Regions from separate parts of the Homo sapiens genome. Here regions 2, 3, 4, 5, 6 and 7 are each linked to region 1. The links are contacts of gene promoters, found by promoter capture Hi-C in human tissues and cell types (Jung and others, 2019). All regions are on one chromosome and are shown on one strand. Each heading gives the region's core, a stretch centred on a gene start or on the middle of the fragment in contact. The rest is flanking DNA. Distances are from core to core; before and after follow the strand shown. Region 1 holds the start of CTNNBIP1 (catenin beta interacting protein 1). Region 2 holds the start of PGD (phosphogluconate dehydrogenase). Region 3 overlaps KIF1B (kinesin family member 1B). Region 4 overlaps KIF1B (kinesin family member 1B). Region 5 overlaps KIF1B (kinesin family member 1B). Region 6 overlaps KIF1B (kinesin family member 1B). Region 7 overlaps KIF1B (kinesin family member 1B).

Region 1 (4,137 bases), core at 593-3,092:
GCAGTGGCGTGACCTCGGCTCACTGCAAGTTCCACCTCCCGGGTTCACGCCATTCTCCTGCCTCAGCCTCTCCGAGTAGCTGGGACTACAGGTGCCCACCACCACGCCCAGCTAATTTTTTGTATTTGTAGTAGATATGGGGTTTCACCGTGGTCTCGATCTCCTAACCTCGTGATCCGCCCGCCTCGGCCTCCCAAAGTGCTGGGACTACAAGCGTGAGCCACCGCGCCCGGCCACAGATTCTTATATGTAATCTGGCCCCTCTCCATCTTCATAGCACTTACCACTACTGAAATTATTTTGTCCACTTGTTTGTTTACTCACTTATTGTCTGACTTTCCTCCTCTTTAAAATGTCATCTCTGAGGAGGGCAGAAACCGTGTCTGTCTTCACCACTAAAGCCCCAGTACTTGGAACGGTGCCTGGCACATAGTAAATGCTCACTACTGAATGAATGAATCTCCATCCCATAGAGGTGATTTGTATTTACAAGGGAGGACCACGAACTCCCCCAGCAAACCGTGAATGACACATTGGCATTTAACAGCCCGCACCTTTATTTATGATCCAAAGTCCTACTTTAAATCTGAGGAAGCTGCTGGTATCTCTGGACATTTTAATGGCACAAGAGATCAGTTATCACTTGGGGACACACTCCAGGAACTGGAGCCCAGTGGTTGTAGCAGGGAGCTAAGAGCCAAGGCTCCTGCGAACAGAACTTCAAGACAAACCATGACTTGCCTCCAGGTCCCTTACCCACACACCCTGTACCTCAATTTACCCAGCAGTTGGCCAGACATGTTCCTCTCAGTTCTGTGAGTGACAGGAGACAAAATAATTCACAGCTGGAGCATACTGAGATCCTCAGACAGGAGGTGGTGCAAGCCACACGTCTCATTATTCATAAAACTCTTGATTTGCGGCCAACACGGCCCCCGCCGCCTTCCCAGGGGCTAACCTGACAACAGGCACTGCTCAGACAAGTTCAGCTCACAAGGCAGAGGGAGGGATGGAGGGCCTAGCAGAGGCTGGGTGTCCAGACCTGAGTGTCTCGGTTACCAGGTTCCAAAAAAAGGAAGGTGGTTGGGGTGGGGTGATGAAAAGGAGGTGAGAGGTGCAGTTTGGGGCTCCAGGTGGTTAATTTTGCAGGTTCGTGCATACACGCCCGCCATCCAGGTGAGATATGTGCCCCCACCAGGTACCTTCCAGGAAGGCTCACCGGGGAGGGGTGGAATCGGGAGACGACAGTTCAATCAAACTACAGAGGGAGGAAGGGCGGCCCAGCGTTTAGTTTGGGGAAATATGGAGAGTAAGAGTCTCAGAGTGGGCGCAGGTGAGGGAAGAGGCAGGGGCCCAGAGGTCGGGAGGGCGGACGGGCGATGACAGGCACCCGGACGCGGTGAGGTGAGCAACAAGGTGGGCGGCGCGGACACCTGTGGAGGCGACCCCCGGGCGAAGAGTCAGGGAGGCGGGAGGTGGTCTGCGGCGAGAGGCGGCCAGGCCCAGACCAGGGCGCCGCGCCGCTGGGGCAGTCAGGGGTCCGAGCGGGGTCGGGGGCGCTCTCCGCGGCCCCTCCCCGGCAGACAAAGGGCTGGCCGCTCCCCCAAGCCCCGGCGCGGCGCGGCGCGGGCCCGGGCGGTGCAGGCGCGGCCCGGCCTCGGCGCTTACCTGGGCCGCCCGACCCGGCCGGGCCGGCAGGGGCAGCGGGTCCGGCGCGCAGCGCGCGGCGGCCTGTTCCGGGGCGTGCTCAGCCCGAGCAGCCGCTGCGGCGGCGGCAGTAGCAGCAGCAGGAGCGGCCGCCTCAGCCTCCGCCTCCCGCTCCGAGAGTCACCGCGGTGGGGAGGGAGGGAGGCGCCAGGCCGCCGGGGGAGGGACCGGCGGAGGGGGCGGCATCTGGCTCCGCGCGGGCTGCTGAGGCGCGGCGGCGGCAACGCCCCGGAGGGAGGCGGGCGCGTGGGGCCGGGCGCCGGGGCGGGGCCTGCGGGCGGGGCGGGGCCCGGGGCCGCGAATTGGTTAACTCAGCCTGTGGGCGGGGCTGCGCGGTGCGGGGCGGGGCCTTGTGGCGCATGTGAACGCTCATTGGGCCCTCCTGGAAGGGGGCGAGACCAGCGACATAGGGACGGGGCCATGCGGTGGGCGGGTGGAACACGGCGCCGGTAGTGAGTGGCCGAGTCCGCGCTGAGAGCAAAGGGGAGGAGCGGGCCGGGGGTGAGCAGGGAAGGCGGGTTGGGCGCGAGGAGGAGGCGGTGGCCTGGAGGAGGAGCCGGGTAAGGCTGAAGCTGGCGCTGCGGTAAAGCCACTCTGCGTGTCCCTATCTGCTCCAGGAGCACAGTGTTCCGGAAAAATAATGGCCTCTCCCACACACCGGTCTGTGTTTAAAAACGGGAGCAACAAGACGGGGCAGAATCCTTGGTGAGGCCAGTTTACCCAGAACCCCGGAAAATTCTGAAATGGACGAGGTTGCAGAACATTTAGAGGCGTGGTCTTCCTGCGTCGTTGAGCTGGGAACGTTGCTACCTCTGAGCTTGGGGCCTAACCTGGGATTAACCTAGCCCAGAGAGCCCAGGGATGGGCCTCCGTAGGTCCATTAAACTCAGAAGGTCGTGTGTACTGGTAGTGAGTGGATTTTTCGGGGGAAGGGTGCCCATGATTAAAATGTTTCTACAGAAAGTCTGGCTGTATTTGGAGAGGGTACAGGGAGAAGCAGCCCATTTTAGGTAAAATGCAAATTGCTTTTAACATCCGCCTTCCTTTTAAAGGGACCTGTATCTTTAAGTGTGGTCTCATTTTCAGCAGTTTAAATTATCAGTTACACAGTGTGACACTAACCCCAGTTCAGAAGCCCTCCTACCCTACTCCTCCCACAGCCTTTCTTTTTACACCTTTTCTGTACCATCCTCTTCCACTCCACATTTCTTCCCCTTCCCTATGCAAAAAGAATACGAAGTCCTTTTTTGTTTGTTCGTTTATAATATAATATCCACATTACTCTTTACTCATTTGGGGGGTTTTTTTGTTTTTGAGAGGGAGTCTCGCTCTGTCGCCCAGGCTCAGGTGCAGTGGCGCGATCTTGGCTCACCGCAACCTCCGCTTCCCGGGTTCAAGCGATTCTCCTGCCTCAGCCTCCTGAGTAGATGGGATTACCGGCATGCGCCCCGGCTAATTTTTGTATTTTTAGTAGAGACGGGTTTTCTCTATGTTGGCCAGGCTGGTCTCCAACTTCTGACCCCAAGTGGTCTGCCCGCCTCGGCCTCCCAAAATGCTAGGATTACAGGCCTGAGACACCGCACCCGGCCTGCTCACACTTTTTCATACTTAATAGGTCCCCGGCCGGGCGCAGTGGCTCATGCCTGTAATCTCAGCACTTTGGGAGGCCAAGGCAGACAGATCACCTGAGGTCGGGAGTTGGAGACCAGCCTGACCAACATGAAGAAACCCCGTCTCTACTAAAAATACAAAAATTAGCCGGGCGTGGTGGCGCATGCCTGTAATCCCAGCTACTCAGGAGACTGAGGCAGGAAAATCGCTTGAACCCGGGAGGCGAGGGTGCAGTGAGCCGAGATTGCGCCATTGCACTCCAGCCTGGGCAACAAGAGCGAAACTCTGTCTGAAAAAAAAAAAAAAAAAAAAATTGGTCCCCAAGTGGGTTTCTCCTACAGTGTCCCCACCTTCAGTAACTGGCACCACTCTCTACCCAGTTGCTTACACCAGACACTTAAATTGTACCGTTGACACCACTCTTTCCTTTATTCTTCATTTCCAGTCCATGTTGTTTCCAATTCTAAATGGTGTCCTTAATCTCTCCACCTCCTACCATCTCTACCCCTCTTTCCCAGTTTAACCTGCCACCAGCTATCACCTTGACTCCTGCAATAACCCTTCAAGCAGTCTCTCCTTTAGGCTCTCCTTACGCCCCCATTCACTGCCCACACAGCAACTAAAGGAAACTTCTTAAAATCTTGTCAGACCTGCGCTATTCAACGACTTCTCTTCATTTTCACGAGGAAGTTCAAAGTCCTTAGTGTGGCAACAAGGCCTTACAGGATCTGGCTACAGCCTGATCTTGAACCACTTTTGCCAACTGGGCTCTAGCCACATATGGGCCTTGTGCCTGTTCCTTGATCACAGGGAGCTCTT
Region 2 (4,137 bases), core at 646-3,145, 490 kb after region 1:
ATATGCTATTATTCCATTTCTATGAAATTTCTGGAAAAGGCAAAAACCATGCAAAGTAGATCAGAGGTTGGCTGGGGGTGAGAGCAGAGACTGACTACAAATAGGCCCAAGGGAACGTTTTGGGGTGATGGAAGTTTTCTATAAGTGGATTATGGTGATGGCTACACAACAGTATAAATTAAAGGTCATCCAAATGTGTACTTACAATGTTTGAATTGTATGACATGTAAATTATCTCATTAAATCTGTATTTTAAAAAAAGAACTGTGCTGTGAAGTTTGACATATTTTAAAGTAGGATGTCTTAGCCGGGCATGGTGTTGCATGCCTGTAGTCCTAGCTACTCAGGAAGTTGAGGCTAGAAGATTGCTCGACCTCAGGAGTTCAAGGCTGCAGTAAGCTATGGTCATGCCACTGCACTCCAGCCTGGGCAACAGAGCAAAGACCTGGTCTTTATAAAAATTAAAAACCGGCCGGGCACAGTGGCTCACACCTCTAATCCCAGAACTTTGGGAGGCTGAGGTGGGTGGATCACTTGAGGTTAGGAGTTCGAGACCAGCCTGGCCAACATGGTGAAACCCTGTCTCTACTAAAAATAAAAACATTAGCTGGGCATGGTGGCACACACCTGTAGTCCCAGCTACTTGGGAGGCTGAGGCAGGAGAATCGCTTGAACCTGGGAGGTGGAGGTTGCAGTGAGCCCAGATCGCGCCACTGCCCTCCAGCCTGGAGACACAGCCAGACTCCATCTCAACAATGACATCAAAAAAAGGCCGGGCACGGTGGCTCACGCCGGTAATCTCAGCACTTTGGGAGGCCAAGGCGGGCGGATCACGAGGTCAGGAGTTTGAGACCAGCCTGGCCAAGATGGTGAAACCCCATCTCTACTAAAAATACAAAAATTAGCTGGGCGTGGTGGCGGGCGCCTGTAATCCCAGCTACTTGGGAGGCTGAGGCAGGAAAATTGCTTGAACCCGGGAGGCGGAAGGTGCAGTGAGCTGAGATCACACCACTGCATTCCAGCCCGGGCGACAGTGCGAGACTCCGTCTCAAAAAAAACAAAAAAAATCTAAAACTCAAACTTCTGAATAACAATTTCCTCCTAGCAAGAAGGGACTCAGTAAGATAAGAAGCGCTGCTTGGCTACTTTGCAAATGTCTGGCTTAAGATGGCTGGTTTTTTGTATCTGCCTCTGCATTTAACCTGGTCCATCTCGCGGGTCACATAGCCTCTACAAAATGAGAAGGGGTTCAATACCGTTAACTCCGGGCCTGGGTAAAAGACTCAAGTCCTGACCCCATCATACTCCAACCAATACATACCCCGCCTGCGCTGTCTGCGCCTGGGTCTCTTCAACCGCAGTGAGCGGTCGCACGGCTCCACATCAGGGTCGCCCTGAGGCTCAGCCTTCCCCGGCCCCATTCCGAGTGCGCACAGGACTGAACGAGCACGCCCGGTCCCTGCTCCGGAGCGGAGGACACGACGCGGACCCGCACGGTGCACCGCAGTGACCTGAGGAAGGAGCGACGGGCGCTCGCGCCAAAGGCGTCCGAGTGCCTGGTAAACTGTAAAGCGCGGTCCTGCGTGAGTTGCTATGGCTACAGCTGCGCCAGGCGGACGGCCTGCAGGACCGAGGTGCAGCTGGGACGAGCGGAAAGCTCTGCGCGTGGGCGGGGAGCCCGGAGCCTCGCCGGGGCAATGTCATCTAGGTGCTCGGCGCTCCACTGATCCGGCCCCCGGGGGTGGGCGGGCACGTTTGCCTCGGATGGTCTAACAGGCGTCGGGGAGAGCCAATGGTGTGGCTTCATGGCTCCACCCCCTTCCATTCGATTGGCCGGCGCCGAAAAGCCGGGCGTGAGCGGCCGCAGTTTCTGGAGGGAGCCGCTGCGGGTCTTTCCCTCACTCGTCCTCCGCGCGTCGCCGCTCTTCGGTTCTGCTCTGTCCGCCGCCATGGCCCAGTGAGTGACTCGCCAGGGGCAGCCCGGCTCGGCCTCAGCGGGCGGGGAACTCTTTGGGGGTCGAGATCTCCCTCGTTCTCTCCGACGCCTCCCACCCTGGGGGTCGCCTGAGCTCACTTGGGGCTCTGTGACCCTGGCCCTACGGCGTCTCGGGCCCAGAGCTCCTTCCCTGCGGGCCCGGCCCCCTGCCCTCTCGGCCGCGCAGGCATGGGGCGGGGCGGGTCCCTTCGAGGGCCAGGGAGGAGGCGCGGCCAGGCCTCGCCGAGTCTGCAGGGACACCTGCGGGACGCGTGCCAGCGGGAGCCGGGCGCGAGGGCGGGGCTGGGGGCCGCCTGCCCGGCCGAGGCTCTGCAGCGTGCGCGCCCGGCTTCTGGGGGCCCGCGGGAGGCGCGGAGGAAAGTGCAGACTCCCAGTCACGGCCAAATGTGGAAGGACCGGACCCCTGGGTTGCAGCGCGTCGAGCGGTGCTGACTCTTTCCTTTGTTCTGTTTCTGCCTCTCTAGAGCTGACATCGCGCTGATCGGATTGGCCGTCATGGGCCAGAACTTAATTCTGAACATGAATGACCACGGCTTTGTGGTAAGCGGCGTGGGCGCGTTGTCTTCTCTCTGGTTCCCGGGCGCTTTAGCCGAGGCCGGCGATAGGTTTGGGAGCTTACGGGTCTCCTGGCCGTGCTTTGCTAATGTGCTCTGTTGCTGCTCGTGGCATTTTTGTATGGAAAGGAGAAGCACCCTGTAGGCGTGGGCGGGCCGATCCCGAACTTAGTCCTGCGGAGTGTGCCTGTGGGTCCGTGAGGTTCACAGCCCGAATGAACGAATTAGTGTCTTAAGTAGAGAAGAAGGGTGCGGGAGGAGAACCCTTGCTGGCTGTGTAGAGCTCTAACTTGATTGCCTGATGAGATCTGGGGAGAGTGAAAATGTTTCTTCTAAATGTTAAAGTGGCTTAGACGCCAGGATGATCAATAACAACAGATAGAGCCTGTTGAACCGGCCAGTTCCTGGATTTGATTTTGAGTCCTAACACGTTGGGTGTGGATTCTACCTGACACACCGGGGGTAGTTGGCCTTCGCCTCGGTTGTCCGCCGTTTTCATCCTACTGAGGTGACATAACTTTACAGTGAGCCTCCCACAGCTGGGGGAAGAAAAGGCAAAGGCAGGTCTGACCTCCCCAGAACTTGGGTTGAATGGAAAGGTCATTGTTACTTTGGCCACAGTCTGAAAGTCTTGTGTGTCCTGGATCTCCTACTCAGGACTTTTGTCCTTCTAGGTCTGTGCTTTTAATAGGACTGTCTCCAAAGTTGATGATTTCTTGGCCAATGAGGCAAAGGGAACCAAAGTGGTGGGTGCCCAGTCCCTGAAAGAGATGGTCTCCAAGCTGAAGAAGCCCCGGCGGATCATCCTCCTGGTGAAGGCTGGGCAAGCTGTGGATGATTTCATCGAGAAATTGGTGAGGCCAGCTGTGCTCTCAGCTGCTACCACGATAGCAGCTGTTTTTGGTTTCTTCCTTTAGTTCTCCTTCTTTTAACTCTAGAGATTTTTTTTTTTCAATTTCTGCTAAGCTCTGACCAAATGATTGCTTAACTGTTGCAGTGTTGGTTAACTTGATAAGCGCTTATGAAGTAACTTTGTCCTTTGGTGGTAGTAATTCTGAGAATACTAACAGACATTTCAATAAACATTAAGGCGGGGCACAGTGGCTCAGGCCTGTAATCCCAGCACTTTTTGGGAGGCTGGTTCAGATGGATCGTTTGAGCCCAGGAGTTCGAGACCAGCCTGGGCAACATGGCGAAACCCTGTCTCTACATAAAATTAAAAAATTAGCTGGGTATGGTGGTGTAAGCTTATGGTCCCAGCTACAAGCTTATGGTCCCAGGTTCGAGACCAGCCTGGCCAACATGGTGAAACCCCGTCTCTACTAAAAATATAAAAATTAGCTGGGCTTTGTGGCTCATGCCTGTAATCCCAGTTACTCGGGAGGCTGAGGAATGAGAATCACTTGAACCTGGGAGGTGGAGGTTACAGTGACCTGAGATTGTGCCACTCCAGTTTGGCGACAGAGCGAGACTCCGTCTCAAAAAAAAAATGAAAATAAAATCAAGATCTCCTTAGGGAATCCTAGGGAACTGGATGCTTATTTTTGTACCAAACAATTTGTTGGCTTTAGCAGGTATATCTTTTTT
Region 3 (4,137 bases), core at 1,528-4,027, 420 kb after region 1:
GATGATCATTCTTATGGAAAGGGGGAAAAGAAAAGCTTTTTTGATAGAAATGAAAGCCTCAAGTGTAACTGTAGGTCATAGTATTAGACAGTCTCTGGGTTTTCCAGTGGCAAAGGAGCATTTAGAATTCAGTTTTTCCATGAATAAACATAAAGGGATTATGTGGCCATGAATATTGTTTTCTACTGGCATATCGCCATGAATAGATAACGTAGAATTTCAGAGAAGCTGATTTTTATTAAAATTGAGAAAGGTATGTACAAATAATGGGACAATAATGCTTGCTTCATTTGATGGCTGCCTGTGTTCTTCAGCACGTTTCCATCCTGTTCTAAGGGAGTTGGAAGTTAAAACCCAGTTTCTGGCCATAAACTTTGTCCCAGTGCTAATTACACAGTTTCTAAAACTGTTCGCTTGTGTTCTATACCATTGCAGTGAAGAGTAGGCAGCTTCATCTTACGTAACATGGTGAGGAGAAGCCTGACCTAATTGTCAGGAGAAGCCTTGGGTCCTAGGCCATCTCTGTCACTATGACAAGCAACTTAAAGTGAAGCCTTTGGGCTCTCAAGTGTAAAGTGAATAACAGGTAGAAATAAAGAGCCATAAAGATCTTTTTCAACTTTCATATTCTGTCATCTACACTAGCAAAAATGAATATCCTGGTTAAGACTTCTACTAAGAAGCATTTGTATTTTGAGGAAGTTGTGTGGAAACTCAAGACAATCCCACTTAATGTGGAAATTAACTGAGGATACATGTATTGTTTTCTCTCTAGTTTTATAGTTTTCTTTCTTTTAATCATGTCAGATGTAAGTATAGGTATAAAGCAATCAACTCTATTTTGATTTTCACATAAAATACTTATGGAGCTGTGGCTCAGGAATTGATTTTTCCATTTGTTTAGGTTCCCAAGTTCTAACCTTGCAAGAAAGGACTGGGGGAGGAAGTGAAATAATATAATAGCAATCAGTAAAGTGAAGGATAGCTTTCCATTTTTGCCCTTGACTACATTTCTCTTCTACAAACAAAATTTACAATAATGCAACATCACCCAGTTGTGTAGTGGTCATTGTATGTGTAAGGAAAGTAACTACTTTCCTGTTTTTGTGATTCACAAGATTGGATTTCTCCTATTGGCATATAATTGCCAATATAAATCACTTGTAAAATTTTTAGTTTCTGGCTGGGTGCGGTGGCTCACTCCCGTAATCCCAGCACTTTGGGAGGCCGAGGTGGGCAGATCATGAGGTCAAGAGTTCGAAACCAGCCTGGCCAACATGGTGAAACCTCGTCTCTACTAAGAATACAAATATTAGCCAGGCATGGTGGTTTGTGCCTGTAATCCCAGCTACTCAGGAGGCTGAGGCAGGAGAATTGCTTGAACCCGGGAGGGGGAGGTTGCAGTGAGCCGAGATCGCGCCACTGCACTTCAGCCTGGGCAACAGAGCAAAGACTCTGTCTAGGGGGAAAAAAAAATTAGTTTCTTGTGAAATTCCATTAGTAAGTTTGTTTTTTAGCCATGACTGCCTCTGCTAAAACTTTATATTGCAAGTGAAAAAGAGCTTGTCCCTTTAGCTATTCTCTTATGGCATGCTGGGATGTTATGAACCATCCATCATAATTTGGGATGAAATGTAAAATATTTAAGCTAGTCTTCTGGGTTAAAAGGGGGTTAAAGATGATGATTCTGTGATCTCTCTAAGTACCTTAACTGACATTCTTTCTATAAGTAGCACCATAATTTTGCTAATTTTTCTTATCTTTATGTTGACCAGTTTGTTCCACTTTTTGAAGTAACTTCATTGAACTTTCTGCTAACGTATCCTTTCCATATTCCCCTCTCTCATCCCTGTTCTCCTTCAGTCTGCTAGGTCAAAGTATAAGGATTCTCAAAAATGCAGAGTAATTATGAAAATTCTGTTTAAAAAGCTTCAGAATAGAATGTTTATATAGCATTGATTTGGAGCTAAGGGCTATATTCTGGTAACATAACAAGGTGCTATCTAGTGAATGTGTGATTGTGTAGTCATGGAGCTGATGTCCCTGCCATAGAATTACAGAATTATCTAAAAAGGGAAATCTATAATAATGGCCTTCAATGCTCCCACACTTGGACTAGCCATTGCCATAGGCAGAAAGGCAATCTCATCTTTACTGTGTGTGCAAACAGTACTTTAATGTAATGTGTGCTTAATATAAGCTTTCTTTAAAAAAAAAAAAGGTGGCTCCTGTTTTTGAATAGCTATTTTTAAGATAGATATAGTTAGGAATCTAAATGTGTTCTATATAGTTAATATCCATTATGAGGTGGCTCTGAAAAATCAACCTAGTATAAGTTGGATGGCTTTGCTTTTCTGCTTCTGTTATAACCCATTTTTCTAGAAAAGCTTCCACTTCTACTTAAAGATAAGAGGCAAATCATTTTCCTGTTCCCTTATGCACATAGATGTTCACTTACCAAATATTTATAGAGTGGCCCAGCCCTCTGCAGACAGTGGTGAGCAAAACCAGACATGGTTCCTGCCCTCATAGACTTATAGTCTGATGGATGACACAGACATAAATTAAATAATTGCACAAATAAATGTAAATTATAGCAGTGATGAAATAGTTGTGTGTGTTGTCGGAGATCACATAACGTTGGGGGACCTGTTATGAGAAAGTGGTGTTTGAAATAAGACCTGAAGATGTGAAATCAAAGGCGTGAGGCTGGGTGTGGTAGCTCACGCCTGTAATCCCAGCACTTTGGGAGGCTGAGGTGGGTGAATCACCTGAGATCAGGAGTTTGAGACCAGCCTGGCCAACATGGTGAAACCCCACCTCAAAAAAAAAAAAAAAGACATCAAAGGCATGAGGTGTAGGCATCGAGTGCAGAGAGGACTCCAGGCAGGGGACATGTGCGATGGCTCTTTAATGGCCCAGGCCTTGAAATGGGCAAGTCTAGCTGGGGTGCCCATAATAGAGGAGGGTGATCTGTGTATGTGTTGACTTTGAAAGTGAAATTATCCATTTGATACCTTACGCCAAATTCTTTGTCTTTTAAATTCTGTTGCAGTAGTTGTTGTTTGAGGGTCTTGTTTAGAACTTTTTAGAACTTTTCATTCTTACGTTTTTTTACACCAGAGCTTCAACTCTCTGTTTCTTAGCATTTCTCTCTCTCCTGCTTTGGAGCAGACTGAAAGGGAAGTGGCATTATTTCATCTGATTTAATGTTCATTTGCAGTTATTTTTGTTATATGTTTCATTTGTATTTCATTTATGCTCTAGTTATGTTAACATTTGTTTTTCTGTGATGTATTATGTCTGTTTTCATAATTTTCATTACTTTGAGTTGAAATCCCAAATACCCAGTCTATCCTCCTCCTCTCTTTGTTTTAAAATAGATTTCAGAGCAGGAAAAGCATCAGATAAACATGTATGTCACTTGGTTTTGTTTGATTTATTGATACAAGTGTCTGTCTTTGTCTTTTGTCTTATGTTCGAAGATCAGCATATACCAAATGGGAAGACTGGAATCATAGTAGGAACTAGATTCTATTTCCCTTTCACTAATTGGAATGAACACTCTAGCTTTGTGACCACCAGTTTTTATTGCTTTTTTAAAAAAGTAGTAGCTACACAATAAAGAAGAAAATACAAATGTGATAGGACTTTGCTAGTTTGCTTGAAATATAAAGTGTTAGAGCTATAATTTAGCTTTCACTTATGCATTTCTGAATTAGGTTTTGAACTCTAGGAGCAAACGCAAACCTTTTAGGCATCAACTGTCATCTTCTCCCTTAACATTTATCTTTTTTCTTTTTTTCTCTTGAGACGAAGTCTTGCTCTTGTCCCCCAGGCTGGAGTGCAATGGTGCGATCTCGGCTCACTGCAACCTTCACCTCCTGGGTTCAAGCGATTCTCCTGCCTCGGCGCCCCCGAGTAGCTGGGATTATAGGTGCCTGCCACCGTGCCTGGCTAAATTTTGTATTTTTAGTAGAGATGGGGTTTCACCATGTTGGCCAGGCTGGTCTCGAACTCCTGACCTCAGGTGACCCGCCTGCCTCGGCCTCCCAAAATGCTGGGATTACAGACGTGAGCCACCATGCCCGGCCCTTAACATTTATCTTGATGCCCATTCAGAGTCTCCTCTAATCT
Region 4 (4,137 bases), core at 1,163-3,662, 390 kb after region 1:
TATATAGATTTTAGCAGTTACAGTTTTGGTGGAATTTAATTGTGCCTATGCATATGTCTAATAAAGGTATTTTATAACATCTTACAGTATTAAAGACTGTGAGGAAATTTTTTTTTTTTTTTTTTTTTGAGACAGAGTCTCACTCTGTCGCCAGGCTGGACTGCAGTGGTGTGATCTTGGCTCACTGCAACCTCCGCCTCCCGGGTTCAAGTGATTCTCCTGCCTCAGCCTCCCAAGTAGCTGGACTGCAGGCACATGCCACCACGCCCAGCTAAGTTTTGTATTTTTAGTAGAGACGGTTTCACCATGTTGGCCAAGGGTGGTCTTGATCTCTTGACTTTGTGATCCACCCACTTCAGCCTCTCGAAGTGCTGGGATTACAGGCATGAGCCACTGTGCCTGGCTGGAAAATTTTTATTATAACAACTAGTGAAAATATTATGCATTTAACATAAATCATAAATAACTTGAACAAATGTTGAGATGTACACTGCATGGAATTCCAAAGTGAGATCTCTGCTTCCAAAGCTTTTTCTTACTTTAATTTTACCCATCTTGCTTTAGCTTTCTAGACTTCTTCATGAAAGGAAGGGATATACCAGTGACCACATCCAAACTCAGTCTTAGGACCTGTTTCTGAGATTCCATTTTTCAAATTATGATGTGCTTTAAAGAATGCTACTCACAAAGGGCTTTGACTTTCTCAAACCAGTCAAGTTCTTCAACTACAAAGGGGGATGCTAGTTGAGAAGATGTGGAGGTTTTTCAGATTTCTCTTTAACCATCTTTTATAGTTCCTTTTCCTACCCCCTCATCTGACTCTTCTTTCATTCTTCCACATTTGCTGGCACTCTCTTGAGTAGATTTTGGCCTCAAGACCATGTGACTTATTTTTGGATTCCAGTGGGTTATTTTCACTAAAGAAGGTTGGTTTTTTAAAAAGATTTTAGAAATATTAGAGTTAGATGAAGAGGATTGTTAGAAGATGTTTATCTTATCGAATATCAGTAATTTTACTTTTTTCTTTAAGGTAAAGACTAATAAATTAAAATCTTTTAAGGTAAAGACAAATTAATAACTGGGATCAGAAGAACTGATAAAAATTATAGTGGGAAGTGGTGGGGGGGTATGGGGACATTTTAATAAAAGTAAATATTTCTTGAGATTTTTACCCAGGCATTTACAAAAATTATAATTATTCCGTTCAGAGAATTGGCCTGTCATTTTTTCCTTGTGCTTTGACCTTATCAAAAATTAGGTCTTGTTTTTTTATCCCAGAACTCATGTTTTAAAATGGAATGCCAGGCACAGTGGCTCACTCCTATAGTCCCAACACTTTGGGAGGCCAAGGAGGGTGGGTCAGTTGAGGTCAGTAGTTCGAGACCAGCCTGGCCAACATGGTGAAACCCTGCCTCCACTAAAAATAGAAAAATTAGCCAGGCGTGGTGGCGAACACCTGTAATCCCAGCTACTTGAGAGGCTGAGGCAGGAGAATCACTTGAACCTGGAAGGCAGAGGTTGCAGTGAGTCAAAATCATGCCGCTGTACTCTAGACAGAGCGAGACTCTGTCTCAAATTAATTAATTAATTAAAATAAAATAGAATGCACTTGGTTCCGTTTGGTGAGGCCTGAAGAGAGTGTTTTCTCTTTATTATGGAACCGCAACTAGGGATAAAAAGAAATCCCTCTCTAGGCTCTGTGGAGAGTTGGAGAAGCCTGGCCTCTTGTAGGCCCCTGTTGTTACCACAGCTCTCTCATGGTGCCCTGCTCCAAATTGATCATCTGTAATCTTTTTCAGACCCCACATCTTGTTAACCTCAATGAAGACCCACTAATGTCTGAGTGCCTACTTTATTACATCAAAGATGGAATTACAAGGTATATTTATTTCCTGTTTTGGTCACTTCGTGTGTTTTCCCCCTCTTAGATAATTGAATAACTAAAGGGAAGGGGTTGAAAAAATTAACGTAATGATTTGCTGTATTTTTTGTCTGAAATAGTTACAAACTATGCTCTCTTTCCAAATAATGTGTTTTTGCCACTGGAGCCAGTTACTATGTAGTTTTTCTCTGAAGACCCTAAATAATTTTTTTTTCCTTTAACAAATATACATTCCTTAGGGATTTTATTTGACTCATGTCTTTATAATACTGTATGAGTTACATTGGTATATCAGTGCTCCTTGTTTCTTATTCTGATGTAGAGAGGTTGATCATATGTGAGGATAGAATTCATAGTTGAAAGCTTCTGATGCAACAAGGCAATACCTTTTTTGTACGTACCAAAGGATATTCTTTGGAATAAAGAGGTTCATTGTTTGTAGTGCTTTCTGTGTCTGAATTTCCCTGGGAAACACTTTCTCTTGTGTTCAGGGTTGGCCAAGCAGATGCTGAGCGGCGCCAGGACATAGTGCTGAGCGGGGCTCACATTAAAGAAGAGCATTGTATCTTCCGGAGTGAGAGAAGCAACAGCGGGGAAGGTGAGCATTCCTGGCTGGAGCTTCAGCAACAACATTTTCATTTTATATTATGAGAAATCCTTAAGACTTTGTATTCTCTGTCTATCAGTAGTACTTTCTTATACAATCTAATTCTGAAAAATGGAGAGACCTGGGCTGCTTATGAATGCAGAGATGGACAAGGCTGCTTTACATGAAAATAGCTTGGACAAAAGAAGCCCTTTTTTACTGCCAAGAACTGAGAAGGACATAGGCAATTAGGCTTGGTCTGGAATGTTAATTATTTAATAGAAAAGTAAGAAAATAGCAGATATCCTGGGTAATAGGAGATTTGAAGGACATTAAGTCAACCCAGCAGAATTTATTTTTATCTAAAAGGGAAGAAAAAGTCAGTCTTGATTTTTGCCTGGGTTATTAACAAAACAACAATTTAATGGTTTTTTTCTGTTATATAAGTCACTCATTCCCTTATCAAAATATTAGCTTCTCAGTCTTTAGTTTCTGGTTATTACCTATATCTCATCCTTACAATTTCTGATGGTTCTGAGTTTTATTGACTGAACCGTCAGAGATCCCTGAAACTAATATTTCCTATCATCTTCTTAGGTTTATCAAATAGAGTTAAATGTTCTTGTGTTAGCCATGGCCACAGATAGCCTCTTCTATTGGGGCTAGTTCTGGTACCCCAAAATGAACTACTGTATAGACAACTTCAGCCACTTGATTGATTGCAGGGATTTATTCTACTTACTGCAAATCCTGATAAGCAACTGCTTTCCATTATTTGATTCCAATAGTTTGTAATGATAACATTAGTTTGTGTTTGTTCCTCTTAGTTATCGTGACCTTAGAGCCCTGTGAGCGCTCAGAAACCTACGTAAATGGCAAGAGGGTGTCCCAGCCTGTTCAGCTGCGCTCAGGTGAGACTGGGAGAGGTTTGCCATCTTCAGCAATGTGCACATGGCTTCTGTGACAACTCTAATTTTTGGCTGTTTAAAGGCTGAAGTAATAGTCAGCATTAGGATTTTTGTTCTTGTAAAAACAACAGCTCTGAAAGCTGTCTTTTCACATTAGGGAGGGGTGAGGTTGTTAAATAGATACTATATATTAAAAAAATTATTTCTTAACCCTATTTTTCTGTTTTGTGCTAGGAAACCGTATCATCATGGGTAAAAACCATGTTTTCCGCTTTAACCACCCGGAACAAGCACGAGCTGAGCGAGAGAAGACTCCTTCTGCTGAGACCCCCTCTGAGCCTGTGGACTGGACATTTGCCCAGAGGGAGCTTCTGGAAAAACAAGGAATTGATATGAAACAAGAGATGGAGAAAAGGTAATGCACAGTTACGCAGCCCATATGACTGTTTCTTCTTTTAAACATGTAATACTAATAGCATTCTTGAATTTTTTTTTTTTTTTTTACTTCTAGGCTACAGGAAATGGAGATCTTATACAAAAAGGAGAAGGAAGAAGCAGATCTTCTTTTGGAGCAGCAGAGACTGGTAGGAGTCCTGAATCTGCTAAACTGTTGGGAAAAGGGCAGCTTGTTCCCATACTTTCCCTGTTCCACAGAGCAGTACTCACCCAAATTGCTTCTGTCTCAATGATACCAAGCACTATTCTTTAATTTCCTTAATGGAGAATGAACTTAAATCTCCCGGTAGCCTTAGCCTGAAAAA
Region 5 (4,137 bases), core at 817-3,316, 360 kb after region 1:
TCCCAGCACCATGGGAGGCTGAGGCGGGTGGATCACAAGGTCAGGAGTTTGAGACCAGCCTGGTCAACATGGTGAAACCCCGTCTCTACTAAAAATACAAAAAAAATTAGCTGGGCGTGGTGGTGGGCGCCTGTAAGCTCAGCTACTCGGGAGGCTGAGGTGGGAGAATCGTTTGAACCCAGGAGGTGGAGGTTGCAGTGAGCCAAGATTGCACCATTGCATTCCAGCCTGGGTGACAGAGCGAGACTCTGTCTCAAAAAAAAAAAAAAAAGGAAAGAAAATAAATGTCAAATTGTTTTCCAAAGTGATTGTACCATTTTACATTCCCACCAGAAATATGTGATTGTTCCAGTTGCTTAAAGCTTCACTTTTAGTAAGCCATTTAATGAGTTGATGAGTTTTATATATTTTTATAACATACTCTAGTAAATTATGTCATGTTTATCCTAAAGTTACTTTTTTTTGAACCGTGATAATTGCTATGAATTTTGTGCATGCTCTTTTTTTTTTTAATTAAAAAAAATTTTTTTTTAGAGACACAAGGGTGTTATATGTTGCCAGGCTGGAGTGCAGCAGACAGCTTTGAACTCCTGGGCTCAAAGGAGCTTCCTGAGTAGCTGGGACTACAGGCATGTGCCATTGCACCTGCCGTGTGTACTGTTTAAACTAACTGATAGATGTTGTCTTGATCTTTTTGTGCCATATTTAAAAGCTCTAATACTTTTAGTTTTTTCCATACCTTAATCTTTTAAAAAGCATTCTGCCTCTAAATATTTCCTGCTTCTATCTTGCTTATTTTTGAATTGCCCCCATGTTATTGTTCTTTATCAGGTCAGTAAAATCAGCTTGGTGGATCTAGCAGGAAGTGAACGAGCTGATTCAACTGGTGCCAAAGGGACTCGATTAAAGGTATTTATTTTAGCAAATAAATGGCCTGATCAATAAATGGCCACTACCTGTTTTTGTAAATAAAATTTTATTGAAACACAGCTACATACATTTGTTTATGTATTGTCTATGGCTGCTTTTGCACTACAATGGCAGTGTTGTGACAGAGACCGTATGGCCCAGAAAACCTAAAATAATTTGTGTCTGTCCTTCTACGGAAAAATTTTGCTGACTCCTGATCTGTAACTTCAATGGAAGGATAAGTTATCTAACTAAATAGTTAGGGAGCACATCATAGTCAGGGTGAGAGTTGAATTGCATTTTAAGGAACAGGTAGAATTTGGCTAGATGGAATTAAGAGATGGCAGTGGGAATAGGATATACAAGATTCAGATGTGAGAACAGAAATTTCATGTCGATAAGTTGAGGGAAGAAGGCTGCACACATCTGTAAGCTTTTGGAGCACAAATATCTCGAAGATACTTCAGGACTGTGAGTTAGGCATGTGGTCTCAGCATGTTATTATCAAGTGGAAAAGAGGACAGATGGAGGACTAAAGGTTGTTTTTAGAACTTGTAATAAAGAAATATGCTAGCATATGGCAAATCATATTTTATGTTCTGTATGATATAGCAGTAGTAGAAATTCTTCATCATTCTTTCATATTTGGTATTTATTTTAGGAAGGAGCAAATATTAATAAGTCTCTTACAACTTTGGGCAAAGTCATTTCAGCCTTGGCCGAGGTGGTAAGTTTTATACTTCATTATAAGGGGAGTTGTGTCTGTTCAGCAAATATACTTGATGATATTTTATTATTGTTTATGAAGGCTGTCTTTTTGTGGCCCTTTTCTGTAATCTTGCCTTTCTCCTTTTAGAGCTTTTCAGATAAGATACTAGGTATAACACAGTTTGACTTTGTACTGAAAGTAAAAGATACTAAGGAGAACAAAAGTAAATATAGATCTGTAAAAACTAGAGCAAACACTGAAGGTTTGACTCATTTTTTTGAGCCTTATTTTATGTTTCTCACAAAAACCAAGTATATTTATTGTCTCTTCTTTTCCTGTATAATCTTTTCTGAGTAAGATGCAGTATCTTTTGGAGTATTTTGAGCAGTTTGGCTTTGGTGAATGCTGTTGATTTGAGGGCCAGTAGTTTTTTTTTTTTTTTTCCCCCAATAGTTTTGTTCTTTCCTACTCCTTTATGGTAGAACAGTAAAACTAAAACTATTTTTTTTAAATTAGGGGCTTTGTTGTCTACATTATTTAAATTAGTCATTGTGTGTTCTAGTTTAGTTTAAAACCTCTTTTTAATTGCTAAGAAGAATGAAATGCTTTCTTGCTTGCCTTGGAGAAATCATAATCTATGACATGAAATTTAAACAAAATCTAATTTTCTACTTGGAGGCTTATCCTGTGTTCTTATTTTCTCCTTTAAATGCTTTCACCTGTAGGATAACTGCACTAGCAAGGTACAGTGGGGATTGGTAGAGATAAACTAGAATTGACTTTTATGTTTTAAATCCTCACTAGGATGTATGGAGGCATAAGTAGGAATGGAACCTTCAAAAATCTTTTCATCATTTGTTCTCTGGCTCTGGAATTTAGAGTGGCTGTAAATTTAGGGTGACCACAAATCATGAGGTTTCACACCAAAATTAATTTCTAGAACATGATATGCTTTGGAGAAGGAATTAAGAATAAAGGAACAAGGCCGAGCATGGTGGCTCATGCCTGTAATCCCAGCACTTTGGGAGGCCAAGGCGGGCGGATCATTTGAGGTCAGAAGTTTGAGACCAGTCTGGCCAACATGGTGAAACTCTGTCTCTACTAAAAATACAAAAATTAGCTGGGTGTGGTAGCGCGTGCCCATAGTGTCCCAACTATTCACGGGTTTTAAACTGAAGTTTTAGGCCTCAAGGATTACATAGTGGAGTGAAAGTTTGTTCCACTAATCTGAATGACTGAAAGGCTTAATTCTCCCTTGAGGTCTGTGCAATCTAAAATTGAACCTGCTATTGGAAATGACTTTCTGATTGGTGGATTGTGTGTCTGTGGGTAGAGTGGAATGAGATGATGATGATGTGGACATATTTAATAAGAGATGGAATTAAAATGTTTCTTGCCTACTCCCTTTCCTCCTCCTCCTCAAAAAAAAAAAAAAAAAAAAAAAAAAAAAACCCAACAAACACCACAAGACTAGCCACTAAGAGGCCAGCCATGTAGTACCCTTTTTCTGAATAGAAAAAGTGCTTGTGCAATAGTAGGATCATCCTTAGTTTAACCTTGGATTATACCAGGACTGAATTATAAAACTGCTGATTTGCTGGAGTGGTGTTTAGCAGTGAGACCCTGGCTTTCTCCTTAGTAGCTTCTTTTTTTTTTTTTTTTTTTGGAGACCAGGTCTCTCACTGCTGCCCAGGCTGGGGTACAGTGGCACGATCTCGGCTCAGTGCAACCTCCACCTTCTGGGTTCAAGCGATTGTCCTGCCTCAGCCTCCCAAGTAGCTGAGATTACAGGTGCCCGCCACCACCCCCGGCTAATTTTTTGTATTTTTAGTAGAGATGGGGTTTCATCACGTTGGCCAGGCTGGTCTCGAACTCCTGACCTCAAGTGATCCACCCACCTCGGCCTCCCAAAGTACTGGGATTACAGGCATGAGCCACTGTGCCCGGCCTCCCCTTAATATCTTCTTAAAGTGTCACAACGCAGTAGTCAGCCAGCATATATTTGAGTAGCTGTTACCTGTAAAGCATTTGCATTAATTTTTACTTTTAGAGAATATAATTTTTTTTCATTTAAGCACTGCCTTTTCATTGGTGCTTTTTGCTTTGTCCTGTGGTAATAAGAAGGATCATGAAGAAAGCAGAATAAGTAGACTTAATAGAACATTCATCTTTCTAAATTACCAAATCATATCTCTTTCTTAGACCTTTTTACTTTTAGTCTTTGCTTTAATAATTGGATTATTTTTGGCATAATTTCCTTTCAAAGAGACCAAATAAATATTATTTTACAAGAGTTACTAGATTTGCAACAACCCAACCAATGACATGGTGGTTGGCCAAGTAAATTCACTAACTAGATGACTTGCTCCTACACATCCAACCTGGAATGCACAAGATTAGTATTTTCCCCTGTGCAAAAATAAAAATTGAGGATGGGGTATTTGATGATGTTAGGGAATTATTGTTTATTTAATGCACAAGATTAGTATTTTCCCCTGTGCAAAAATAAAAATTGAGGA
Region 6 (4,137 bases), core at 1,202-3,701, 340 kb after region 1:
CTTTTAGAAACTACAGTCCTCCTAGTTCCCACTTTTATATTTATTTATTTATTTATTTTTGAGATGGAGTCTTGCTCTGTTGCCCAGGCTGGAGTGCAGTGGTGCAATCTCGGCTCACTGCAACCTCTGCCTCCCAGGTTCAAGCAATTCTCCCGCCTCAGCCTCCCAAGTAGCTGGGATTACAGGTGCGTGCCACCATGCCTCGCTAACTTTTGTATTTTTTGTAGAGACGGGGTTTCACCACGTTGGCCAGGCTGGTCGCAAACTCCTGACCTCAAGTGATCAACCCCCCTCAGCCTCCCAAAGTGCTGGGATTACAGGCGTGAGTGACCGTGCCCAGCCATCAGTTCCCACTTTTAAATGAGAGGTTCTTTGTTTTTGTGGGGTTTTTGTTGTTGTTGTTGTTGTTGTTGTTGTTGCTGTTGTTACTTGAGACAGGGTCTTAGTCTGTCATCCAGGATGGAGTGCAGTGGCACAATCTTGGCTAACTGCAGCCTGGACCTCCCTGGGCTCAGGTGATCTTCCTACCTAAGCCCCCTGAGTAGCTGGGAGTGCAGGCACACACCACCATGCCTAGCTAACTTTTGTATTTTTTGTGGAGATGAGATTTCACCATGTTGCCCAGGCTGGTCTCAAATTCCTGTACTCCAGCGATCCTCCTGCCTGAGCTTCCCAAAGTGCTGGGATTATAAGTGTGAGTCACCGAGCCAGGTCATAAAGACAGTTTTTTTTTGTTTTGAGATGGAGTTTTGCTCTTTTGTACCCAGGCTGGAGTACAGTGGTGTGATCTTGGCTCACTGCAACCTCCACCTCTCGGGTTCAAGCAATTCTCCTGTCTTACTTAGCCTCCCGAGTAGCTGGGATTACAGGCGTGCCCCACCACGCTGCACTGATTTTTTATATTTTTAACAGAGATGGGGTTTCACCATGTTGGACAGGCTGGTCTGCAACTCCTGACCTCAGGTGATCTGCCCACCTCAGCCTCCCAAAGTACTGGGATTACAGATGTGAGCCACTGTGCCTGGCCAATAAAGAGAATTTTAAACAATGCCTACAGTGTGATTTTAGTGGGGTGGCCACATACATGTAGGTGTGCACATGTATTTCCATGAAAATGCCTTCCTGCCTTTAGCCTTGACAATGCTGCATATAGGGAATAAGCATTTAAATGATGGTGTCTGGGCTAAGAGTGTGAACTCTGGAGCCAAACCCTCCAAAATTGCATCCTGAATCTGCCACTAGCTAGCTCTGGAGCCATGAATAACTTATTTAACCTCTCTGTGATGGTTTATCTATCTGTAAAATGGGGGTAATGAAACATCTGGCTCATTGAGTGCTTGGGAGCATCAAATAGGTTAGTAGGTCTGGTGTGGTGGCTCACACCTGTAATCCCAGCACTTTGGGAAGCTGAGGCATGAGGATGGCTTGAGCCCAGGAGTTTGAGACCAGCCTGGGCAACATAGTGAGACTCCCATCTCTACAAAAAAGAAAAATAATTAGCCGGGTGTAGTGGCATGAACCTGTGGTCCCATCTACTCCAGAGGCTGAGGTGGGAGGATCACTGGAGCCCAGGAGGTTGAGTCTGTAGTGAATTGTGGTTGTACCACTGTACTCCAGTCTGGGCCTCAGAGTTAGATCCTGTCTCAGGAAAAAAAAAGGTTCGTAGACAGAAAGTACTTATGGCTCAGAGTAAGTGTTCTGTGAATGTTGGCTGTTTTTTAAATCTTGCATTTAATTCCTCTTTGGTTAGAAGTATACTTCTTTGCTTGGATTACCATTTGCATGTGGAGAGATGTTCCTTCTAGAACCATGTCTCCTTGTCACATGATTATGTACAGTGTGAGCTTTATTAATACTCTGTCAGCATTTGAGGTTGGAACATAAATGCGTGGCTGTACCCAGTGGAATCCAGCAAGAGAGAGAACTAAGCACCGTAGCAACTGTTGCTATTTGTGTACTGAGCAACAGCTGTGCGAGACAGATTTATTTTTTAATCCTGATCTCACTGATAGCCTGGGATGTGGCCTTGCCACATCTCAAAGGAGTAGATTGGTTGAGATATCCAGTCTTTGAGGAGATTTCATGACCACATGCCATAAAGATTCTGTTTCATTTCAAATATGAGGAGCTAAAGCTTTGTGTGTATGAGTGAGGGAGAAAGATTAAGCTTTAAAGCATTCATAGTCAGTCCCTGAAATATAGTGTGACTGGATTAATGACATGATAAATCACTTTTAATGTGGGTGGTGAGACTTCATGCATTTCAGTCAAAAAAGTAATTTTGCTGTAATGTGGTTCATTTCCAAATTTTGGCTGCTAACTTACCTAGGATGGATAAACATTATCACAGAGTATTTACTGAGCATCTACTTTATACCAGGGTCTTTTCTGAATACTGGTAACATGCAGTTAATTACACTCCAAAATGACTTAGTCTGTGATTCCACTATATACTACATTACATAAATACACACACACTAATCATTTACATACTTGTCAACCTTAGATTTCAGAAATAACACTGTATTTGTAATGAATGCTTCATTACCAAATGCTTTTCTGAAGTACATAGTAAGATCTTTAAAAAGAGCTTTCATGGCCAGGCGCGGTGGCTCACGCTTGTAATCCCAGCACTTTGGGAGGCCGAGGCGGGTGGATCACAAGGTCAGGAGATCAAGACCATCCTGGCTAACACGGTGAAACCCCGTCTCTACTAAAAATACAAAAAAATTAGCTGGGCGTGGTGGCGGGCGCCTGTAGTCCTAGCTACTCAGGAGGCTGAGGCAGGAGAATGGCGTGAACCTGGGAGGTGGAGCTTGCAGTGAGCCGAGATCGTGCCACTCCCCTTCAGCTAGGGCGACAGAGGGAGACTCTGTCTCAAAAAAAAAAAAAAAAAAAAAAAAGCTGCTTTCAAATAGTGGTTGGATTCATTCAATAACTTTCTAATTTTCATTTCTCTTTTTTTTCTTGAGATGAAGTCTTACTCTGTCACCCAGGCTGGAGTGCAGTGCATTAATATCAGCTCAGTGCAACCTCTGCCTCCCGGGTTCAAGTGATTCTCCTGCCTCAACCTCCCCAGTAGCTGGGATTATAGGCACACACCACTATTTCTGGCTAATTTTTGTGTTTTTGGTAGAGATGGGGTTTCACCATGTTCGCCAGGCTAGTCTCGAATTCCTGACCTCAAGTGATACACCTGCCTTGGCCTCCCAAAGTGCTGGGATTACAAGTGGGAGCCACCGCGCCCAGCTCCATTTCTGATGTGTTCCAATATTTCAGGGCTTAACGGGTGCCTTGAAATAGTAATGTGGGCCAGGTGCAGTGGCTCACGCCTGTAATCCCAGCAGTTAGGGAGGCGGAGATGCGCAGATCACCTGAGGTCAGGAGTTCGAGACCAGCCTGGCCAACATGGTGAAACCCTGTCTCTACTAAAAATAAAAAAATTAGCCAGTTGTAGTGGTGGATGCCAGTAATCCCAGCTACTCAGGAGGCTGAGGCGGGAGAATTTCTTGAACCCGGGATGAGGTGGTTGCAGTGAGCCGAGATCACACCACTGCACTCCAGCTTGGGGAATAGAGCAAGACTCTGTCTTCAAAAAGAAAAGAAATAGAAATGTCGTTCATTTCCAAATTTTGGCTGGTAACTTACCTAAGGAGGATAAACATTGTCACAGAATATTTACTGAGCATCTACTTTATACCAGGGTCTGTTCTGAATACTGGTAACACGCAGTTAATGCTGTTGGTCTGGTTTTTCATGTTCCATGTATAAATTACCTCTTAAAACTATGATTGTTTTCATTCATTCATTCATTTTTGAGATCGGGTCTCAAAATAGGCTGGGGTGCAGTGGCTCGATAACAGCTAACTACATCCTCAAACCTCCAGGCTCAAGCCATCCTCCGACCTCAGCTTCCTAAGTAGCTGGGACTGCAGGCATGTGCCACCATGCCCAGCTAGTTGTTGTTGTTTTTTTTTTTTTTGGTATTTGTTGTAGAGACAGGGTTTCACCATGTTGCCCAGGGTGGTCTTGAACTCCTGACCTCTAGTGATCCACCCAGCTCGGACTCTCAAAATGCTGAAATTACAGGCATGAGCCACTGAGCCCAGCCTATTAATTTTTGATTGCCCTATTCAG
Region 7 (4,137 bases), core at 890-3,389, 320 kb after region 1:
ATACAAAAAGCTAGCCAGGCGTGGTGGCGTGTGCCTGTAATCCCAGCTACTTGGGAAGCTGAGGTGGGAGAATCACCTGAGCCCAGGAGGTCAAGGCTGCAGTGAGCTGAGATCATGCCACTGCACTCCCCAGCCTGGGCAACCAGAGGGAGACCCTGTCTCAAAAACAAACAAACAAACAAAAAAATACATTGTATTTGGTTGATAAATAACGCAAGTCTCTCTTTTTTTTTTTTTTTTTTTTTTGAGATGAAGTCTCGCTCTCTTACCAGGCTGGAGTGCAGTGGTGCGATCTCAGCTCACTGCAACCTCTGCCTCCCGGGTTCAAACAATTCTTCTGCCTCAGCCTCCCAAGTAGCTGGGATTACAGGTGCACGTCACCATGCCCAGCTAATTTTTGTGCTTTAGTAGAGATGGGGTTTCACCATGTTGACCAGGATGGTCTTGATTTCTTGACCTCGTGATCTACCCATCTCAGCCTCCCAAAGTGCCAGGATGACAGGCGTGAGCCACCGTGCCTGGCCCACAAGCCCAGGGTTATAAAACCCTGTCTCCCCAATTATGCTATTTGTTTGAAGAAACTTGGTTGATTTATTCTGTAGATTGTTTCATATACTGAATTTGCCTGTTTATATCTTTGATGTGTCATCTAAGTTGCTTCTTTCCTCCCTATATGTCTTCTAAACTGGTAGTCAGATCTAAAGCTTGATTTTATTCAGGGTTTGGTTTTTTAAACAGTTTTCATTTTAAGGGGAGTGGGGCAAGAATACTTAATAAGCTGTGTATTTCCTTTGTTCGAGACCAGCCTGGCCAACATGTTGAAACCCCATCTCTACTAAAACCACAAAAATTAACCTGGTGGTGTGTTGGGCACCTGTAATCCCAGCTACTCGGTAGGCTGAGGTAGGAGAATCGCTTGAACCCATGAGGTTGAGGCTGCAGTGAGCCAAGATCGTGCCACTGCACTTCAGCCTGGGTGACAAGAGCGAAACTTCATCTCAAAAAAAAAAGAGTTGGGAAAAGGTAACATTCTATAATTCTTTCATTTCTTCTGCATTTATTAGCTAGAATTTTTCTGTAAAGAACTTACCCTCAGCCGGGTGCTGTGGCTCACACCTGTAATCCTAGCACTTTGGGAGACTGAGGTGGGCGGATCATATGAGGTCAGGAGTTTGAGACCAGCCTGGCCTACATGGTGAAACCCTGTCTCTACTAATAATACAAAAATTACCCGGGCGTGCTGGTGGGCTTCTGTAATCCCAGCTACTCGGGAGGCTGAGGCAGGAGAATTGCTTGAATCCCGAAAAAGGAGGTTGCAGTGAGCCAAGATCATGCCACTGCACTCCAGCCTGACCTGGGTGACAGAGTGAGACTCCATCTCAAAAAAAAAGAAAAGAGAAAAAAAAGAACTTACTTTCATTGACTATTTGGTTATCCTGGAATATTTTATACAGGCTATACAGACTAGATGTATGCTTAATTCTGTTTTATTTGCTGTTTTCAGGATAATGCATTTTCTTCCCTCTGTAACCATTGATCTATTAATGAAGTTTTTAAAAAAAAAAGTATCGTAAGCTTATGAATTTATATATTTGACTTTTAAAAATCAATTTGCAGTATTTTTTACATGTTAGGAACAAGAGAACGTTCTTGCTATTGGAAGTGACGTTGAAAGTCATGCTTTAGAGGGGTTGATCTTGCAACAGGGTTAAGCAGTGGTTTAAAGCAGTGCTTTTTAGCTGGGTATTTGTAACATAATCTTTGAAAATTAACCCAAATCAACAAATCCATATCTGGGGCCTATCTAGACTGGGAGAGTCTAGACTCCTTTGTTTTTCAAAAGGCCCCCGTGTCATTCTGTTTCATACAACTCTGTTTAAGGACTATTGGATCAAAGACTAAAAGCCCAAAGAACAGTCCAGCTATTGCAAGTATCCTAGGTATGTGGTAGTAAGGACATGGATTGAGGTAATATCAGTGGGAATGAGAGGAAGGGAGGGATAGAATAAAGCAACTTTATATCTTAGAAGTTTCCATATGGTATTTTGTGAATAATGTTGGTAATAATACAAGGTTTCAAAGAGTAGTGACAAAGATGACTCCAACATTTATGGTATCGGGGCCTGGGAGAATACTGTTGATAGGGAAGATTGGCAGAGATTGCTAGTTTAGGGGAGAAGATAATGGTTTTTTGGACATGAGGAGAGTTAAGATGATGGCTGTATTTCAGAGGGAACTCGGGGAGGTTGCAATGTGTTTTATGTCTTGCTTTTTCTGAATGTGTCATTCATTCTCTTGGCATAGTACTCAACTAGTGAATATAAGTCATGCTCCATTGATTGGGAAGGTTAATAAATGCTAAGTTTTCATTTGATACATGTGATCATAAAAATATTTGATATTTAAATAAAGAACCATCAGTTTAAAATAAAATGGCAAACAGACTAGAAAAAACATTGTAGCAAATAGAAAAAGATTAATATAAAAATATGTAAACATTTAAAAAACAAAAAAATCAGTAAACTAGGCAAAGGACTTAAACAGATAATTCTCACAACTGGGAAATGTATGTCATTCATTTCATCAACATTTACTGAGCTCTTATGTCAGGTACTGTTGTAAGTGCTAGCAAACGAGACAGGAGATCTCTGAGCATTCTGGTGGTAGAGTGAGAGACAGACAGTGTGAGAGATGGACAATAGACATGCTCCAGAAAACAAGAATTTCAAATAGCGATGATGCTATTAAGAAAATTAGGGGCCAGACAGCCGGGTGCGGTGGCTCATGCCTGTAATCCCAGCACTTTGGGAGGCTGAGGCGGGTGGATCACGAGGTCAGGAGATCGAGACCATCCTGGCTAACATGGTGAAACCCCATCTCTACTAAAAAAAAAATACAAAAAATTAGCCAGGCGTGGTGGCAGGCGCCTGTAGCCCCAGCTACTCAGGAGGCTGAGGCAGGAGAATGGCGTGAACCTGGGAGGCGGAGTTTGCAGTGAGCCGAGATCGCGCCACTGCACTCCATCCAGCCTCCTGGGTGATGGAGTGAGACTCCGTCTCAAAAAAAAAAAAAAAAAAAAAAAAAAAAGAAAAGAAAATTAGGGGCCAGACGTGGTGGCTCACACCTATAATCCCAGCACTTTGGGAGGCTGAGTCAGGAGTTTGAGAACAGACTGGGCAACATAACAAGACTTTGTCTCTACAAATAAAATAAAATATTAGTTGGGTGTGTTGGTGTGTGCCTGTAGTCGCAGCTGTTTTGGAGGCTGAGGTGGGAGGATCACTTGAGCCCAGGAGTTCAAGGTTACAGTGAGCTATGATTGTGCCACTGTACAGTAGCCTGGACGGGTAGGGCATTGAGGTAGAGAGTGACTTTGGTTTTTATGTTATTTATTTATCCTGTTCTCGGGAACACATCGGTTATGGTGTTGTGTAGTTGGAGGTTAGCATTCCTAATTATCTGGAAAAAATATTGGTCAGATTTAAGTTCTGTTGTGGTTCCTGATAATTGGATTCGTAATTACTTTTCTTTTTTAGATTTTTCCTTTGTTTGGTTATTCTTGAAAAAGATTTTATATTGGATAGAGTGTAGAGTTTTTCCTAACTAGAAAAATTGGTTGTTTTTTTTTTCTTTCTTTTTTTTTTTGAGACGGAGTCTCACTCTGTGACCCAGGCTGGAGTGCAGTGGTGCGATCTCAGCTCACTGCAACCTCCACCTCCTGGGTTCAAGTGATTCTCCTGCCTCAGCCTCCTGAATAGCTGGGATTACAGGTGTGTGCCACCACACCTGGTTAATTTTTGTATTTTTAATAGAGACGGGGTTTCACCGTGTTGGCTAGGCTGGTCTTGATCTCCTGACCTCAAGTGATCCACCCATCTCGGCCTCCCAAAGTGCTGGGATTACAGGCGTGAGCCACCGCACGCGGCCGGTTGTTTCTTACAGAAGTTACTTACTTGGATTCTTTTCACACAGTAGTGTTGGCTTTGTTCTGTTGGGAGGGAAACTATTCCTCTAAAAAATGTTCACATTTTTCCTATTACTTCATTCAGTAGTGAAATGTAATGATTTGACTCTGCCATGAGTCAGTGGCATATCTGAGGGATCTTTGAAGTTAAAGGAAATTGGCCAGGCGCAGTG

The links. The method cuts DNA at HindIII sites, captures the fragments that hold promoters and counts their contacts. A contact is called where the count stands out against the background at its distance.
Region 2: the fragment with the promoter of PGD here is called in contact with the fragment with the promoter of CTNNBIP1 in region 1 in 4 of the 25 tissues and cell types used here (IMR-90 fibroblasts, aorta, dorsolateral prefrontal cortex and 1 more).
Region 3: a contact is called between a fragment that was not itself captured here and the fragment with the promoter of CTNNBIP1 in region 1, in 4 of the 25 tissues and cell types used here (IMR-90 fibroblasts, dorsolateral prefrontal cortex, hippocampus and 1 more).
Region 4: a fragment that was not itself captured here is called in contact with the fragment with the promoter of CTNNBIP1 in region 1 in 2 of the 25 tissues and cell types used here (dorsolateral prefrontal cortex and hippocampus).
Region 5: a contact is called between a fragment that was not itself captured here and the fragment with the promoter of CTNNBIP1 in region 1, in 1 of the 25 tissues and cell types used here (dorsolateral prefrontal cortex).
Region 6: a fragment that was not itself captured here is called in contact with the fragment with the promoter of CTNNBIP1 in region 1 in 3 of the 25 tissues and cell types used here (IMR-90 fibroblasts, dorsolateral prefrontal cortex and liver).
Region 7: a fragment that was not itself captured here is called in contact with the fragment with the promoter of CTNNBIP1 in region 1 in 2 of the 25 tissues and cell types used here (heart right ventricle and hippocampus).

What each region holds. Positions count from the first base shown.
Region 1 is chr1:9,908,427-9,912,563 of GRCh38, forward strand. CTNNBIP1 (catenin beta interacting protein 1) reads right to left here and starts at 1,843. Exons shown (of 6, transcript NM_020248.3): 1 at 1,669-1,843. RefSeq lists silencers at 1,391-1,450, 1,621-1,680, 1,691-2,290 and enhancers at 2,438-3,111, 3,112-3,784. The HindIII fragment of the contact is 11,728 bases long and covers 1-4,137 here.
Region 2 is chr1:10,397,169-10,401,305 of GRCh38, forward strand. PGD (phosphogluconate dehydrogenase) reads left to right here and starts at 1,896. Exons shown (of 13, transcript NM_002631.4): 1 at 1,896-1,957; 2 at 2,461-2,536; 3 at 3,225-3,404. The coding sequence starts at 1,950. RefSeq lists an enhancer at 1,284-1,593 and silencers at 2,074-2,393, 2,486-2,662. The HindIII fragment of the contact is 25,181 bases long and covers 1-4,137 here.
Region 3 is chr1:10,328,272-10,332,408 of GRCh38, forward strand. All of the region lies in intron 27 of KIF1B (kinesin family member 1B), which reads left to right. Among named protein-coding and RNA genes, the nearest start is that of PGD, 69 kb to the right of the region's middle. The HindIII fragment of the contact is 6,880 bases long and covers 1-4,137 here.
Region 4 is chr1:10,293,287-10,297,423 of GRCh38, forward strand. KIF1B (kinesin family member 1B) reads left to right here. Exons shown (of 49, transcript NM_001365951.3): 18 at 1,800-1,879; 19 at 2,374-2,480; 20 at 3,296-3,379; 21 at 3,611-3,791; 22 at 3,888-3,960. Among named protein-coding and RNA genes, the nearest start is that of KIF1B, 85 kb to the left of the region's middle. The HindIII fragment of the contact is 6,454 bases long and covers 1-4,137 here.
Region 5 is chr1:10,270,671-10,274,807 of GRCh38, forward strand. KIF1B (kinesin family member 1B) reads left to right here. Exons shown (of 49, transcript NM_001365951.3): 8 at 832-909; 9 at 1,571-1,636; 10 at 2,344-2,361. Among named protein-coding and RNA genes, the nearest start is that of KIF1B, 62 kb to the left of the region's middle. The HindIII fragment of the contact is 4,387 bases long and covers 1-4,137 here.
Region 6 is chr1:10,251,998-10,256,134 of GRCh38, forward strand. All of the region lies in intron 2 of KIF1B (kinesin family member 1B), which reads left to right. Among named protein-coding and RNA genes, the nearest start is that of KIF1B, 43 kb to the left of the region's middle. The HindIII fragment of the contact is 6,215 bases long and covers 1-4,137 here.
Region 7 is chr1:10,226,809-10,230,945 of GRCh38, forward strand. All of the region lies in intron 1 of KIF1B (kinesin family member 1B), which reads left to right. Among named protein-coding and RNA genes, the nearest start is that of KIF1B, 18 kb to the left of the region's middle. The HindIII fragment of the contact is 4,198 bases long and covers 41-4,137 here.